4 separate regions of the Homo sapiens genome follow, and all the other regions are linked to region 2. The links are contacts of gene promoters, found by promoter capture Hi-C in blood cells and fetal thymus (Javierre and others, 2016). All regions are on one chromosome and are shown on one strand. The core of a region is centred on a gene start or on the middle of the fragment in contact, and the rest is flanking DNA. Distances in the headings are between cores, read along the strand shown.

Region 1 (4,285 bases), core at 1,426-3,925, 530 kb after region 2:
TTGGCCTTCCTTCTCCAAACACGCACACACCCCCACACACACCAAATCACTTTAGTCTGTCCTAGCAAAAAGTGATCTATGGTCCTTTTTGGCACACAAAAAAATACAATTGTGTCATTCCTTTTACTCGGAAGACTTCAGTTTTTACATTGCCTTCAGCAGTGATTATTAACCTATTTTAGGTACTTATACTTTTGAGAATAAATAATAAAGCTTTTTACTTTCTTCTGAGAAAAATATGCAATATAATTTTATATAATTTTGGAGGTTTAGCAACACCTCTGAAGCCTATCCATAGATCTTCTAGGGATCCTTCACCTAACCTATACAATAAAAATGGAATTTCCTTTTAATAGCATAAAAGATTCTTCATTTACCCAGCCAAGCTCTTCACTTCCACTTTCTACTTTGAAAGGAACTTCCACAGCATACCATATTCTTTCTTATACCTTTTTTCCTTTCTTTTCTTTTTTTATTTTATTTTTTATTTTTATTTTTTTTTGAGACAGAGATTCCTTCTGCAACCCAGGCTGGAGTGAGTGCAGTGGCACAATGATGGCGCTACCTCGTGAGCTCAGGTGATCCTCCTACCTCAGCTTCCAGAGTAGCTAGGACTACAGGCATGTAACATCATGCCTGGCCAATTTTTTTTTTAAGAGACAGAATCTCACTATGTTGCCGAGGCAGTGTTTATTTTTAAATAAACTTTTAATTTCAGCATAGTTTGAGATTTACAAAAAAATCCTGAAGATAAGACAGTTCATTTCTGTATTCCCCACACCCACTTTCCCTTATTACTAACATCTTACATCAATAAGGTACCTTTGTTACAATTAATGAACCAATATTGATATGTTATTATTAGCTAAAGTTCATACTCTATTCAGATTTTTTAGTTTTTACCTAATGCCCCTTTTCTGTTACAGGATCCTATCCAGGGTGGCATATAACATTTTGTTGTTGTATCTCTTCTGGCTTCTCTTGGCTGTGACAGTTTCTCAGAATTTCCTTGTTTTGATGAGCTTGGCAGTTTTGAGTACTCATCAGGTATTTTGTAGAATAATCTTCATTTGAGGTTTGTCTGATGTTTTTCTTATGGTGAGACTGGGGTTATATGTTTTGGAGAGAAAGACCACAGAGGCAAATACCATTTTCATCACATCATATCAAGGATGCATACTTATCAATGTGGCTTATCACTGTTGATGTTAACATTGATCTACTGACTGAAGTAGAATTTGTCAGGTTTCTCTCCTGTGAAATTATTCTTTTCCCTCGTTTCCATACTGTATTCTTTGGAAGGAAGTCACTATGCACAGCCTCAATACTTCCTTGAGGGCAGAGTATCTACATAAAGTACTTGAAATTCTCCTGCATGGAAGATTTGTCTATTCTTCCTTTCTTTTATTTTTAAATATGTTTACCTCTACCTGGAATGCTGAAATAACACAATTTCAAAATGTCAGTGGCTTAACACGCATTTTATTCCTTATTCATTCCAAAATGCCTATCACAGTTTAGCAAGTGGCTCTGCTCCACATAGTCACTCAGACGCTCAGGCTGCCGGAGGTTCCACCATCAGGTAGCTAGCTACACTTTCTGAAACATACAACTTCATCAGTTGCCAAGGAAAAGTAAGAGCACTGGAGTGTTTTGCACCAGCAGTTAAATGTTTCAGCTTAGAAATGACATTTCTACCCATAGCTCATTGCCTAGACTTAGCTACATCACTCCGCCTAACTCTACAAGGGGACAGGGAAGTATAATCCTCCTCTGTGCCTGGAAGGAGAGGGAACTAGATATGGGTGAGTATTGGAAGTTTCTACCACAAGTCTTCTACCCCACTTGTCCACTAAACAAAATTCTATTCTTCCCCCAATTCTCATTCAGCTGAAATTCTATGAAGCGTTCACCATCTCTTCCAGACAGACTTCAGGTTCCCTCCATGCTCCATCATCACTTTGTAGCTATCACCATTAAAACTATTACATTGGATTATAATTGTTGGTTTGCATGTTCTGTAGAAGAAAACAACCATGTTTTTTCACCTTGGTATCCTCAGCATCAATACAGTGCCTCTTACATAGAAAAATATTCAGTCAATTTTTATTCTTGGCTGGGCGCAGTGGCTCACACCTGTAATCCCAGCACTTTGGGACACTGAGATGGGAGGATTGCTTGAGCCCAGGAGTTTGAGACCAGTCTGGGCAACGTAGTGAGACCCTATCTCTACAAAAAATGAGAAATCAGCTGGGTGTGCTGGTGGTGCACCTGTAGTCCCAGCTACTCAGGAGGTTGAGGCAGGAGGATCCCTTGAGCCCAGGAGGTTGAGACTGCAGTGAACTATGATCACGCCACTGTACTTCAGTCTGGGCAATAAGACCCTGTCTGTCTCGATTAAAAAAAAACTTTTATTATATTGAACTAATGAATAGATAAATTCTTAAACTTTGTAACCAAATGTTATACAGGACCTTATTCTATAATAAAATTATAGTGTTCTTAGCAATGAAAGTGGAATTTTTTTGTCCATATTAAATTTTTTTTTTTTTTTTTGAGACAGGGTCTCTCTGTGTCACCCTGGCTGGAGTGCAGTGGTACAATCTCAGCTCATTGCAACCTCTGTTCCTCCTGGGCTCAAGCAATCCTCTTGCCTCAGCCTCCCGAGTAGCTGGGACTAAGGCGCATGCTACCACGCCCGGCTAATTATTTGTATTTTTTGTAGAGATGGGGTTTTGCCATGTTGCCCAGGCTGGTCTCGAACTCCTGGGCTTACACGATTTGCCCACCTCGGCCTCCCAAAGAGCTGGGATTACAGGTGTGAGCCATGGCACCCAATCCCCTATTAACTTTAAATGAAGTATTGAATCATACCTTCAAATAGTTTCTACCCAGATTGGTATGAGAAATCCTGTGCCTCAAACATATGGTCTTATTTCTAATGTATTCCAGAGGGCTAAGTTAACTGTGTATTTTTAAAAATTATTCTCTCGGCCAGGCACAGTAGCTCACATGGTGGATCATACCTATAATCCCAGCACTTTGGGAGGCTGAGGTGGGCGGATCACTTGAGGTCAGGAGTTTGAGACCATCCTGGCCTGGTGAAACCTGTCCCTACTAAAAAATACAAAAATTAGCTGGGCATGGTGGTGGGCGCCTGTAATCCCAGCTACTCAGGGAAGTTGAGGCAGGAGAATTGCTTGAATCCAGGAGGCGGAAGTTGCAGTGAGCTGAGATTGTGCCACTGTATTCCAGCCTGGGTGACAGAGCGAGACTCCATCTCAAAAAAAAAAAAATTAAATAAATAAATAAAAACTATTCTCTCTCTTTTTTTAACTCTAAGCTATATTTTGTAATTATTTTCTAATAATTAAAAAAACACATTCCTCTGTAGTTTGTGGTTGGCTTTTATTTAGAACTTTGTGTTACTTCATTGCATCATATGTAACGTCAGAATCCTGTTTTAAAACACATGTTCAGAAGAGAAGAGCAACAATTTAATTGTAGGTGGGATGTATTTTTTATACAGTGACTTTACCAAATTTGTTGAGTGGTTACATTGTACAAGTGAAGGTTTCTTACTGGGAAGGCAGAAGCAAAGGTTTAAAGGAGCATAAGCCCTCGAAAAGCTCATGATAGCAGTTATAAAGACAATACAACAGCAAACAATAATAGAAAATGAAGTCATAGATGATATGTAATGACATATGTGTGTTTTTAACACTAAGTCCTCTGAGTTCAAGAATGGCACGTTCTGGGTGTGGAGTGGGTCAGAAGAGAGAAAACCTGGAGTTAAGGGGATTAGTAAGAAAGCCATGTACTAACATGAAGTTATCATGAAGTCCATACATGAAATTCAGGTCTAAAATAGATGCTACACTCCACAGAGGAGATTTAACTTGCAGTGTGATTGAATTCCTTACATAGATATGATAATTCTAAGTGTAGTTTTTATGTGTTTAGGTTTATTTTACTCCCTTTGTTTTCACAAAAATTAGTAGTCAAGTAGTAGCAGATTAGGGTTTAGCATCCTATTTTTAAAATAACATTTCTAATTTACTGTTAGTCTTCAATTACATGTCAGTTTGAAACAGCAGTCAAGGAAATTATTTTCTAAAATAAATGTGTGATCTCAACACAGTGTTTCTGGAACTAAAAAAACCCACACAAAATAGATGTGTGAGACACTGATACCAGCCCTTATCCTCTTTGGGTCAGGCTGACTTGATTGCAAGGCCTGGGTGTAAATGGCACTACATTTGTGGGTTCAGTTTCTACTTGACTG
Region 2 (4,193 bases), core at 958-3,457:
TTTTCAAAGCACAAGGCCAATGAGAAGGGGGAAAGTCGGTCCAGAAGGCAGCCGGCCCGACTATTCTGAGTTTGAATCTACTCTTGGTGGTCCTGTTAAAATACAGTTTGAAGCAAATCACTTGTTTTTATGCTTCTAATGTCTACTCTGTCGAAAGCCCAAATTTCCTTGCTTGGCATTTAAGGAGACTCCAAGTTCTTAAAACTTCTTCTTGACTTTCATGCAAGTCAAACGGATTTATTTATTGTATCTCAAACAGTCCTCTTATATTTTCCTTTCTGTATTTTTTGATAATTTTCTTGTGCCTGGAATATTCTCTGCTTTTATTTAAGTCTCACCATCTTTCAAGACACAAAATATGTGTGATCTCTGAGGCCTTTGTGAACTGCCTCCAGCATTTACTAAGCAATTAATTCTGTCTCTGAACTTTTATAGCACAAACCCATTCGTTCACTTGATATTTAACAAATATCAACCTCTATCACTTATCTCTTTTTTTTTTTTTTTCTTCTGAGATGGAGTCTTGCTCTGTCACCCAGGCTGGACTGCAGTGGCGCGATCTCCGCTCACTGCAACCTCTGCCTCCCGAGATCAAGCGATTCTTCTGCCTCAGCCTCCCAAGTGGCTAGGATTACAGGCGCCCGCCACGGGGCCCGGCTAATTTTTGTATTTTTAGTAGAGACAAGGTTTCACCATCTTGGCCAGGCTGGTCTCGAACTCCTAACCTCGTGATCCACCCACCTCAGCCTCCCAAAGTGCTGGGATTACAAGCGTGAGCCACCGTGCGCAGCCTATCACTTATCTTTTCATGCTTACATTTTCTCACTGCTTGAGATTTTCTTTCATCCAGGGTCAAGCACTGAGTCTATTAGAAACCCCACTGTATATGATCTGATGAAGATGAGATTATCTTTTTAAAAGCCACATATTAAATCTCTTAAGTTAATAATATTGGCAATCAACTTAAATCAACTGAGTGACCACTATGTTTAAGGAAGTTTCCTTTCTGGTAGGCTGGGAAGCGGGAGAAGGGAAGGATATAACTTTATAAAAAAAAAAAAGCTGCAGAAGGGAAGGATATAACTTTATAAAAAAAGGTCCTTGTTCACAAGGAGCTAATCACTTACTGGCCAGAGAAGAAACGTGTTCCTTCTTTGCAATGGCTGTGTTTTTGGGTTTAGCTAACTCAATTCTTTATGTCCTCAATTTATGAGACCGCATCAAAAACGTTTTTGCCACATCTCTGTGGGAAAGTAGGTGAGTCAGAATGAGTGCATAATATATAAGTATATATTTTAATGATAATGAATGTGTAGATTAACAAACCCAAACTTTGTTTTTGTTTTTTTGAGAGTCTTGCCCTGTCGCCCAGGCTGGAGTGCAATGGCATGATCTTGGCTCACTGCAGCCTCTGCCTCCCGGGTTCACAGGATTGTCCTGCCTCAGCCTCCGGAGTAGAGTAGCTGGGATTACAGGTGACCGCCACCACGCCCGACTAATTTTTGTAGTTTTTAGTAGAGACGGCGTTTCCCATGTTGGCCAGGTTGGTCTTGAACTCCTGACCTCAAGTGATCCACCCGCCTCGGCCTACCCAAAGTGATGGGATTACAAGCGTGAGCCACCGCGCCCAGCCAAACCCAAACATTCTAAAAGCGCAGAGTAACCGCTCCCCTCCCCGCCAACGGTAACCAGCATCTTCGTTCTCCAACCAGAACAGCTGTATGCACCGGTGTATAAGCCTGCCTTAAGTGCTATTTTTAATCTTTTTTAAAAACAGGCCTTAAAATAACTCATTTGGGTACAACTCCAGCGGCTGGTGGAGTGGGCTTAATATATTAAACAGCTGTTAATTTTGGTTTCTTTTTGGTAACAGCGACACGGAGATCCGCATTTGTCGCAGTTTCCACCGCGGGCGGGAAGTGTAAACACAAGAAATACAAACATAGCGCAACGGCTAAAGGAGTGTCACAGCGCCAAACCTTGCTGGCTCCGCGCCAGGCCGAGCCCCACCCTCTCAGCTCGCGGCCAACACCCCCACCCCGCCTCACAGCCCGCCGCGCCCGCGGGGCGACACCCCCCACTCCATCATCCCGGAGGTGGTGCGGCCGAGCCCCGGACCCAATTGGCGGAAGCGGGGCCGGTTGTGTGCGCGCGCACAAATGCCCGGATGCGCCGCGACGACCCGCGCGCTCCCCTCGGGCGGTAGGGGGCGCGCACCGAGGCACCGCGGCGAGCTTGGCTGCTTCTGGGGCCTGTGTGGCCCTGTGTGTCGGAAAGATGGAGCAAGAAGCCGAGCCCGAGGGGCGGCCGCGACCCCTCTGACCGAGATCCTGCTGCTTTCGCAGCCAGGAGCACCGTCCCTCCCCGGATTAGTGCGTACGAGCGCCCAGTGCCCTGGCCCGGAGAGTGGAATGATCCCCGAGGCCCAGGGCGTCGTGCTTCCGCGCGCCCCGTGAAGGAAACTGGGGAGTCTTGAGGGACCCCCGACTCCAAGCGCGAAAACCCCGGATGGTGAGGAGCAGGTACTGGCCCGGCAGCGAGCGGTCACTTTTGGGTCTGGGCTCTGACGGTGTCCCCTCTATCGCTGGTTCCCAGCCTCTGCCCGTTCGCAGCCTTTGTGCGGTTCGTGGCTGGGGGCTCGGGGCGCGGGGCGCGGGGCATGGGGCACGTGGCTTTGCGGAGGTTTTGTTGGACTGGGGCTAGGCAGTCGCCGCCAGGGAGGAGGGCGGGATTTCGGACGGCTCTCGCGGCGGTGGGGGTGGGGGTGGTTCGGAGGTCTCCGCGGGAGTTCAGGGTAAAGGTCACGGGGGCCGGGGGCTGCGGGGCCGCTTCGGCGCGGGAGGTCCGGATGATCGCAGGTGCCTGTCGGGTCACTAGTGTGAACGCTGCGCGTAGTCTGGGCGGGATTGGGCCGGTTCAGTGGGCAGGTTGACTCAGCTTTTCCTCTTGAGCTGGTCAAGTTCAGACACGTTCCGAAACTGCAGTAAAAGGAGTTAAGTCCTGACTTGTCTCCAGCTGGGGCTATTTAAACCATGCATTTTCCCAGCTGTGTTCAGTGGCGATTGGAGGGTAGACCTGTGGGCACGGACGCACGCCACTTTTTCTCTGCTGATCCAGGTAAGCACCGACTTGCTTGTAGCTTTAGTTTTAACTGTTGTTTATGTTCTTTATATATGATGTATTTTCCACAGATGTTTCATGATTTCCAGTTTTCATCGTGTCTTTTTTTTCCTTGTAGGCAAATGTGCAATACCAACATGTCTGTACCTACTGATGGTGCTGTAACCACCTCACAGATTCCAGCTTCGGAACAAGAGACCCTGGTTAGTATTTTTGTCTCGTGTAACTTTTAAGAATAATTTATTTTATGAAGTGATAAACTAAATTTCGTATACCTCAATTGTAGCATGGCTCTGTAAATAAAATTGTATGTGCATAGCTTAAAGTGTGCTACCTCTGGCGTAACTGCGTGGAGTTAAAAACTGTTAAGAACTGGTCAGTATTTTTTTAGCCATTTGCCACATTTGCTTTAAAAATTAGTTCCATTACATTGTTAAGCGTGGTTGAAGTTACGTTTGTTACGTGACTGATTTTTTTTTCCTTTTTGACCTCCCAGTATTTAATTTTTAAAAATGGTTTCTAAAAGTCAAAAAAGTTATTCGTGCTTGTTTTAAAGATTTTTGTCATTAGAGAAATTTTAAAGTAAAACCTGAAAATTCCAGGCTTTTTGCTCCATGTTTCCTTTTAGATTTTTTGTGTGCGTACCCACATATATTTACATTTGAATTTAAATCTATGTTATTGTCCTGTTTGTTGTACTAACAAGATGAAACTGTAGTTGTTCTGTGACTTGCATCCTTGTCAATAAATAAAGTCTACAGAATTCTTTTTAATGGCTGCATAGTATTCCACAGCATGAGTATACCATTTTAAAAATTATTTATGCCTTTACTGATAGGTTTTTAAAAATTGCCTCCTGTTTTTGAGTATTACAGATAGTGCCGCTTTGTACATGCATCCCGTGTGACTATTTCTGTAAGAAAGATTTTATAGAATTATAGGCTGGCCTCGGTGGCTCACCCCTGTAATCCCATCACTTTGGGAGGCCAAGGCGGACCGATCACCTGAGATGAGGAGTTCAAGACTAGCCTGGCCAACATGGTGAAAACCTGTCTCTACTAAAAATACAAAAA
Region 3 (4,676 bases), core at 1,120-3,619, 520 kb before region 2:
TTATTAGCAACTAGGAAATAGAGTTTGCCGAAGGGAACCTAGCATGGGAAAAAGTAAGACTCGCTGGCTCTGCTGTTGTTCAGAGAGAAGAGGAAATGGAAATTACTTGTCACAGTAAATCTAAAATTTCCTGAAGTATCAGTCGAAACTAATCCTTCTCCTTATATGGGATTAACAAATAATTTTTAAAAAGCTAGTTGTCTAGTAAATTATTTTGTAATTTGTGACTGTGACTTTTTAAGATTAAACAGATTTCTACTTATATACTAAGATTAATGTGTTGTACACAGCAGAAAATGTCTGGAATTGTTGCAGACAGTTTTAATTAGTGAATGAAAATAACCACTAAATCTGTATAATAAGGAGGGTCATCAGATATTTTTCTAGAAGCTTCTCTAATACAAAATATTCACTGTTTCTGAGTTTTATTTTTATTATTATTTAAGTAGTGACTGAAGAGCTGTATATGTTGATGTATGTCTCTACTATTCTGTATTTTTATATGTCTTCAAATTATTAAAATAAATCTGAATAAAATTTTTTGGGTCCCCACATTTTGATTCTGACTGATAAAAGAAACTGACATGTTGTTAGTGTATTGATCCATAATATTTTTAAAGTCTTGGCAGCAAAAGAACAAAGCTGGAGGCATCACACTACCTGACTTCAAACTATACTACAAGTCTACAGTAACCAAAACAGCATGTTACTGGTACCAAAACAGAGATATAGACCAATGGAACAGAACAGAGCCCTCAGAAATAATACCACACATCTACAACCATCTGATCTTTGACAAACATGACAAAAACAAGAAATAGGGAAAGGATTCCCTGTTTAATAAATGGTGCTGGGAAAACTGGCTAGCCATATGTAGAAAGCTGAAACGGGATCCCTTCTTTATACATTATATGAAAATTAATTCAAGATGGACTAAAGACTTAAATGTTGGACCCAAAACCATAAAAACCCTACAAGAAAACCTAGGCATTACCATTCAGGACATAGGCATAGGCAAGGACTTCATGTCTAAAACACCAAAAGCAATGGCAACAAAAGCCAGAATTGACAAATGGGATCTAATTAAACTAAAGAGCTTCTGCACAGCAAAAGAAACTACCATCAGAGTGAACAGGCAACCTACAGAATGGGAGAAAATTTTTGCAATCTACTCATCTGACAAAGGGCTAATATCCAGAATCTACAATGAACTCAAACAAATTTACAAGAAGAAAAAAACCCCAACAAAAAGTGGGCGAAGGATATGAACAGACACTTCTCAAAAGAAGACATTTATGCAGCCAACAGACACATGAAAAAATGCTCATCATCACTGGCCATCAAAGAAATGCAAATCAAAACCACAGTGAGATACCATCTCACACCAGTTAGAACGACAATCATTAAAAAGTCAGGAAATAACAGGTGCTGGAGAGGATGTGGAGAAATAGGAACACTTTTACACTGTTGGTGGGACTGTAAACTAGTTCAACCATTGTGGAAGACAGTGTGGTGATTCCTCAAGGATCTAGAACTAGAAATACCATTTGACCCAGCCATCCCATTACTGTGTATATACCCAAAGGATTATAAATCATGCTGCTATAAAGACACATGCACATGTATGTTTATAGCGGCACTATTCACAATAGCAAAGACTTGGAACCAACCCAACTGTCCAACAATGATAGACTGGATTAAGAAAATGTGGCACATATACACCATGGAATACTATGTAGCCATAAAAAAGGATGAGTTCATGTCCTTTGTAGGGACATGGATGAAGCTGGAAACCATCATTCTCAGCAAACTATCACAAGGACAAAAAACCAAACACCACACGTTCTTACTCATAGGTGGGAATTGAACAATGAGAACACTTGGACACAGGAAGGGGAACATCACACACCAGGGCCTGTTGTGGGGTGGGGGGAGCGGGGAGGGATAGCATTAGGAGATATACCTAATGTAAATGACGAGTTAATGGGTGCAGGACACCAACATGGCACAAATATACACATGTAACAAACCTGCACATTGTGCACATGTAGCCTAGAACTTAAAGTATAATAAAAAAATTAAAAATAAAAAATAAACAAAAAGTCTTGGCAGCAACGATTCATAGTAATTTATTTATTTATTTATTTACTTACTTATTTATTTTTGAGATGGAGTCTTGCCCTGTCGCCCAGGCTGGAGTGCAATGGTGCTATCTCAGCTCACTGCAACCTCTGCCTCCCGGGTTCAAACAACTTTCCTGTCTCAGCCTCCCGAGTAGCTGGGATTACAGGCACCCGCCACCACACCCAGCTAATTTTTGTATTTGTAGTAGAGATGGGGGTTTCACCATGTTGGCCAGGCTGGTCTCGAACTCCTGATCTCGTGATCCACCCACCTAGGCCTCCCAAAGTGCTGGGAATTACAGGCGTGAGCCACCGCACCTGGCCGGTAATTGATTTAAATGATCATGCTAGGGTATTTGTTAGTGCCAGGTATATGTTTTCAAATTAGTAAAGCACTTCGGATGTTTCATCTTTGCAAAATTACAAGTTAAACTTCATATTACTCGTTCCTTGTGGAACCAAAATTTAGTATTGCCATACAACCTATTTTCGATTTTCTTTTGGTTTCCCCAGAACCTTAACTGTTTTGACCTGAATAGTTTTTTGACAGGAACATTGAATGCTAAGGTACTCACTGTGGGCAAATTTTTCCTGAGATGCCCAAACTCTGACTATCATTGAAGTTATGAGTGTAAAGTGCCTGCATCTTCCCATAATGTGTGGCATTTGGGTTAGTTTATATTTTCTTCTTAAAATTACAAAACTGAGTTTAATTTAATTCACCTTATTCAAAAAAAACTTGCAGCAAACATAGGAAATCTTTGATATTGGGCACGCATTCATTCAGGGACCAACCTTGACTATCTTTCCTTTCATCAGTAATTATCGTGGGTACTTTATCTCTGCATTTCCTGACTCAAAGCTGATAACATCTCCAATTCATGGTTACGCTAATATAGTTTGCATTTATCAGGTAATTAGTTCCACCTTCTAGAGTAGCTGAGTCACAACACTGTAGTCAGTCTTTTTTCGCTTTACCACATAACGGAAATAGACAAATCATTTCAGCACCCCTACCTGAAACTGCCTCTGGGTAAGCTGAATGTAGGTCACAACTGATAGGTCTGTGATGAGAGGCCACGATTTCAGGGTACCCTGTCACCTGCTTATTAGATTTAACCTTAGCCTCTCTAAAACAAGGCTTTTTTTCTTGTTGTTTTAATGAAAATTTGCCGACATAATAAAACTAAACATTTTGAAGTGAATAACATTTAAATAGCATATATGAAAACTTCACAGACCTTATGCCATTTAATCTGAAAACTAAATTGGTGAGTGATCTTAATCTGCAAGATGAGGAATACAAGCTCAAAGTTCAATTGGCTTGCTCAAGGTGGAGTTAGGACTAGAACATAGGCTACTATAACCCCAAAGCCAGTTGTTCCCAAACTACCTATGAGAATCTGGAAGATTACACATATAGATTCCTAGGCCGTCTCTGCATAGTCTCCCTCTGTAAGTCTATTGTTATTTGTGGCTTGTTTTTATTTTCTAGGTGGACTTCAGCCAAGAAAATAAACTAAACCAAACCATTTGTATAAGCCAAGGAATATGTAAGTGGTATAATAAATATTAAAGCAGCTTATCTTGAGCTGGCTTTCTGAAGTAGATTGTTTTCTCTGTCAGGCAAGTGATATGGAAAGTTTAGGAGAGACTGAGGCAGTAGCTAGTGATGGGCTTGTAAACCGCCTCCCAGTAAATGGGAGAAGCCCTAATTTATGGCATCTGTTGATTTCAGTGGTGTAAATACTCCCACCATGGCCAATTTCTAACTACTGATAACTTTAACAACTTGCTCACAACATTCTTATTTAATGATTGGCCCATGAGTTAGCTCCAGCATAATACTGGCATGTAGACTGTATAGGGGAGAAACTGAACAATTTCCCAGCATTATCTAAATTGTCCATTATGTGGTCTGAATTGGTGTAAACTCCCCAAACATTACTCTACCTGTTGGCCTCATGTTCTGATTTCCAAAGGTGGCTTAGTGTCCCCCAAGTCCTCATTTCTCAATTTCCAGATATGCTTTATATGGATATAGGGCAGAATGAAACTACGGATGGAGACTAGTGGGTAGAGCACTTCGTAGAAGAGAAATGGATGCCATCTTTAAGATGACTCATCCTTTGCTCTTACCTGCCACATGGCAGGAGTCACAGGATGGGGAGCTGCCTCCTGTATAAGAGCCTCAGGGTGGGAATGAAACATGACATATGATTTAAAGAAGCTTGGCTCTAAGCCTGAGAGCAAAGGGCTGGGTCTTTCTGTGCCTCCACTTGCCATGGGAGAAAGACACGTATGGTTAGATTGCAGAGTCAACATTAGCAAGAAAGTTCATCAGCACGGAGCTGAAGAGATCAGTAGCCTGCTTTTAGTCCATGAGTCAAGCTCATGGGGCAAGTTGGCTTCTCAGAGACCCCATGTGACCAGACCCATTGGTGCACAACCCTAGCTAGTCCAATGACATAGACTGTTGTTTGGCCTGGAGTAATCTCTATCAGCAGAATCACCTTGGGAAACTGAGTAATGGTGGTTTGACAGACTGGGCCC
Region 4 (4,275 bases), core at 691-3,190, 770 kb after region 2:
TTTACTCTTTAAGATTCAGCAAAAAGCTTTTCACTTCTCAGTATATCCAGAATACATCATATCTGGGACTTAGGAAAATTTGCCAAGCAATCTTTGTTTTTATAGATACTAATGTTGACCCTCTCCAGCGTTCAATGTTATAAATAGAACAAGTCAAGCTAGTGTTTATCTCCTCCCCCTCCCCAAAACTGTGGCACAGCATATAAAAATGTACCTCAATAATGTTCTATTAAAAATGGGACAGGGGCCTTATGTTTTCATAATTTCCCAACAATGTGCCGCCATATTTTTGCCTCAAGGTAAAGGTTTTAACAGATGAAAAAGTACTTCCCAATTCCCCCGTGCTATTCCTAACCTATAATGCCCAAATGTTTTGTGCAATGTGTAGTGTGTGTGTATAAATACATATATTCTTGAAATAGACATACCATCAGAGACATCATTCACAAGTAACTGATGTATTGGCATCTCATTCATATTTCTGATGTGTGAGGTATATGGTACTAATTACCTTTTCCTTGATGTTTGCCAAATTTGAATAAAGGCATTGGTACGAAATTACAGAATGTAAAGAAAATGTTTTTGGCTTGAAAAATTAACATATTTTATGACGTACCACAGTATACTCTGCCCAAACCAGCACCCTATCTATCTTTCCTGTTCTTTACATCCCTGTTCCCCATCCCTACTTCCTCATTTTTGGTATAACACAGTTCTTTTGTAGCATCATTATAATTGCAGTTCTATGGCAATTGGACAGTTATAGCATGGAAACAGACTGGTATAAGTAGTACAGTAGTCACCAGTGTGCCACATTTGCATTAGTAATGCAAAATATACATTTTATAAAGGACAAACTTTGTGTTATGTTTTATTTTCATTACATTGTATAATATTGTAAGACTATTGTATGTCCTAATTTGCATTATAAATGTTTTTTTCCTACGTAAAGGCATAAATATAGCAACTTTGTATAAAGGTAGCTTATTAGATTTTTAATTTTTTCTTTTATAAAAAATTGTCCAACAGTGGGACTACCATTGCCAAATTGTATATGAAATATGAATTTTACCCCCATGGTTAATTTCTTTTATAAACATTCCATATTTCTCTAATAAAAAGACATAAGTGATACTGTACTATGCATACATTGTATCTTAATGCTGTTTCAGATCAGCATTTTAAATTTTGGTTTGCATTTTTAATATTGGCAAAACGTAACCACTGTTAATTAAAATAAAACCTTGTTGTATATGTAACAACATAATTTTCCCTCTATCCCTTCCCACCCTTTGTTCTCTATTTCTCCCTATCAGTGCCAACTTCATACATTTTGTAGCATGGCAATAAAATATAACTTTTACACTGAGGCCGAGTGTGGCTTTTTGGAGGAAGTGGGGATGGGACGATTGCCCTCTAGTTGTCCTTTGCATATGACTGTTTTTTGCCATATAAGCCATGTCATCAGGCATGAAAAGTTTTCTCATATATGATGTAAACTTGCTTTTAAGGACAAGTGTGAATGTGCTTTTTAAGCTTAATTTTTGTCATGACAACTAATTTTTTTTATCTTTGGAGAAGTCAGAGTTCTTTACAATCAAACGTTTATTAACTGGAGTACTTAGAATAAGCTAGTAATTGAATTTAGTTCAAGGGCTAAGCAACACATTTTTAAATCCTTATTTATTGTAGAGTATTAGTATACTGTCCTACAAATTATGTAAAATATGGTTTAATATTAGATGACTTTGGATTTTGCAATGCCTTACTGTTGTCATTCTAGCATAAATATCCATAATGAGGTACTCAAGTTGATACTGGAAGCTGAGCTGATCATACACTGACCTGAAGCATTCATGAAAAGCTGCTTTATTGAATAAAGTCTGATTGGAGTTCTTTTCATGCTCACTTTCCCCTTATTGCTGAAAGTAGATTGCAATAAAACCCCAATAAAACGTTTGGTCGGATATCTACTTAAAAGTTTTATTGTATTTATATTTCACATACTACTTGAAACTTTGTGACATTTTCTTTCCTAGTCTCATATCACTGCCTCCATTTTCAAAATGAAGATATCAAAATGAAATTGTAACTATATGACAGGCTTTCTCACAGTTTTAGCTGTGTGATCATTCCAAATAGTAGTTCTCAGCTCTGGGACTTCAAACCTGTTTTTAGCCACTGAGTGACATTGCAAAGCCTTAGTTGAGTACAGGTCAAGATGGAAATTATTTAAACAATGAAGGAGATGGACATGTCCACAAGTGATTGATGTAACTGGCATGATAAAGACACACACAAAGGAAGGGCATCCAACTCAGCCTAGGGGTGGAGGTTTTCAAGCAAAGCTTCTTAGAGGGGGTGATCCCTGAGGTGGTTTGTTGAAAGTCTTTGTAGCTTAGAGAGGATGTCTTAGGGAGAAGGGATAGCATGTGCAAAGGCACAGAGGTATAGAAAGATCATGACATTCAGTGGTTGCAAGAGGTTCCAAATGACTAAGCGCATGGAGAGCAAAGGCAGGGTTGGGGGATACAGAAGAAAGGAGAAATGAGAAACAGATCACAGAATCCTAAGGAGCTTTTGTTTAAATTAGGTGAGAGAACTTGAAGGATTTTAAACACCAGAAAAATAATAGTTTAGAAAGATTTCTCTGACAACATGGATACGTGAAGGGCGCAGTATTTTTTTTTTTTTTTTTTTTTTTTTTTTTGAGACGGAGTCTCTCCCTGTTGCCCAGGCTGGATGGAGTGCAGTGGCGCCATCTCGGCTCACTGCAAGCTCCCCCTCCCAGGTTCATGCCATTCTCCTGGCTCTGCCTCCCAAGTAGCTGGCCCTACGGTATTTTAATAAAGCAGGGAGACTGGTTGAGAGGCTTTTTCAGAAATGGAGCCAGATCTGATAAATCCGTATTCAAAGGCATTGTTAAAGGACTGTTTAGATTGTTTACTGCTGTGCAACAAACCACCCTAAAAGTTAGTGGCTTAAAGCAGCAATCATTTAATGTCTCAAGTTGCTATAGATCGAGATGGGCAGGGCACAGCAGAGATGGCTCATCTCACATGATGTCTGGAGGCCTGGCTTCCTCATATGCTTTGTGCCTATGCTAGTATGATTCAAGCAGCTGAGGGCTGGCTGGACCAGTTCCACTAGGTTATGTCTGGAACTTAAAGCTCTCAGCTGTGTTCCTTAGTTTTCTTCCATGAAGTCTTGGGTCTTTCTTCATGTGGTCTTCTTACATGGCAGCTTAGGGTTCCCAAGAGCACAAAAGTAGATGCTGCTAGGCTTTCTTGAGGCCTAAGCCCAGAACTGGCACAATGTCAATTCTGTTGTATTTTGTTGAATTACAGTGGCTCATATAAAAGCATGAACATCAAAAGTGTAGTTTATTCAGGGCCACCAATGTAATAGAGGGCCTAAAGGAGGAAGAATTAACACCTCTGATTGATAAGGGGAATGACAGAAATGGAGGGGTCAAGGATGACCCCCAGTTATCTGGTTTGGGTGACTGAGATGGTTGATGGTGTCAGTTCATTGAGATTTAAGATATATTTGGGGGCTGGGCATGGTGGCTCATGCCCGTAATCCCAGCACTTTGGGAGGCTGTGGAGGGTGGATCACTTCAGCCCAGAAGTTTGAGACCAGCCTGGGCAACATGGTGAAAACCTGTTTCTATGAAAAAATACAAAAATCAACTGGCGTGGTGGTGTGTGCTTGTAGTCCCAGCTACTCAAGAGACTGAGGCAGGAGGATAGATTAAGCCTGGGAGGTTGAGGCTGCAATGAACTGTGATCCTGCCACTGTGGTCCAGCCTGGGCAACATAATGAGACCCTGTTTTTTTTTTTTTTAAAGTGCTCCTCTAAGTGTGCTCCACAGACTGATTCCTGTGTACAAACTATCACGGTCTGCAACAGGAGAAATATCAAGTCTTCTAACCTTCTCCCTACTACCCAAACAGTAGGTGTCTGGGTGGACCCAACTTAATGTGACTGTGGACTCCTGGTCCTTTATTTGGTTTCCTTCCCCAGGTATTCTAACTGTTCCTGAGGAATGTTGACAAGTCCCATAACTCTGTTCTGGTGGTTGTTTGCCACTTCGCCAGTTATTTCACTCCAGTTAATGAATCTACCCTTGCTCCCAAATCACCTCTAGCCATCAAATAATGATATGCTACAGTGCTTTCCTACTTCCATAACATGCCAAGCATATCCAACCTCGGCTACTATATTTATAAAGCCTATTAGAAGACTTGGGATATAATGATAACAATAGCTAAG

Evidence for each region. The method cuts DNA at HindIII sites, captures the fragments that hold promoters and counts their contacts. A CHiCAGO score of 5 or more calls a contact.
Region 1: a contact is called between a fragment that was not itself captured here and the fragment with the promoter of MDM2 in region 2, in 1 of 17 cell types (neutrophils). The highest score is 5.9, in neutrophils.
Region 3: a fragment that was not itself captured here is called in contact with the fragment with the promoter of MDM2 in region 2 in 1 of 17 cell types (megakaryocytes); the score reaches 5.9 in megakaryocytes.
Region 4: a contact is called between a fragment that was not itself captured here and the fragment with the promoter of MDM2 in region 2, in 1 of 17 cell types (neutrophils). The highest score is 5.7, in neutrophils.

Annotation. Positions count from the first base shown.
Region 1 is chr12:69,333,281-69,337,565 of GRCh38, forward strand. No RefSeq gene overlaps it. Among named protein-coding and RNA genes, the nearest start is that of LYZ, 13 kb to the right of the region's middle. The HindIII fragment of the contact is 4,929 bases long and covers 212-4,285 here.
Region 2 is chr12:68,805,970-68,810,162 of GRCh38, forward strand. MDM2 (MDM2 proto-oncogene) reads left to right here and starts at 2,208. Exons shown (of 11, transcript NM_002392.6): 1 at 2,208-2,522; 2 at 3,239-3,323. The coding sequence starts at 2,509. RefSeq lists a silencer at 1,906-2,295 and enhancers at 2,497-3,696, 2,796-3,185. The HindIII fragment of the contact is 7,204 bases long and covers 1-4,193 here.
Region 3 is chr12:68,287,258-68,291,933 of GRCh38, forward strand. No RefSeq gene overlaps it. Among named protein-coding and RNA genes, the nearest start is that of IL22, 36 kb to the left of the region's middle. RefSeq lists a silencer at 3,195-3,254. The HindIII fragment of the contact is 3,963 bases long and covers 389-4,351 here.
Region 4 is chr12:69,577,814-69,582,088 of GRCh38, forward strand. It overlaps FRS2 (fibroblast growth factor receptor substrate 2), which reads left to right. Exons shown (of 9, transcript NM_001278356.2): 9 at 1-1,980. Among named protein-coding and RNA genes, the nearest start is that of MIR3913-2, 4.8 kb to the right of the region's middle. The HindIII fragment of the contact is 812 bases long and covers 1,535-2,346 here.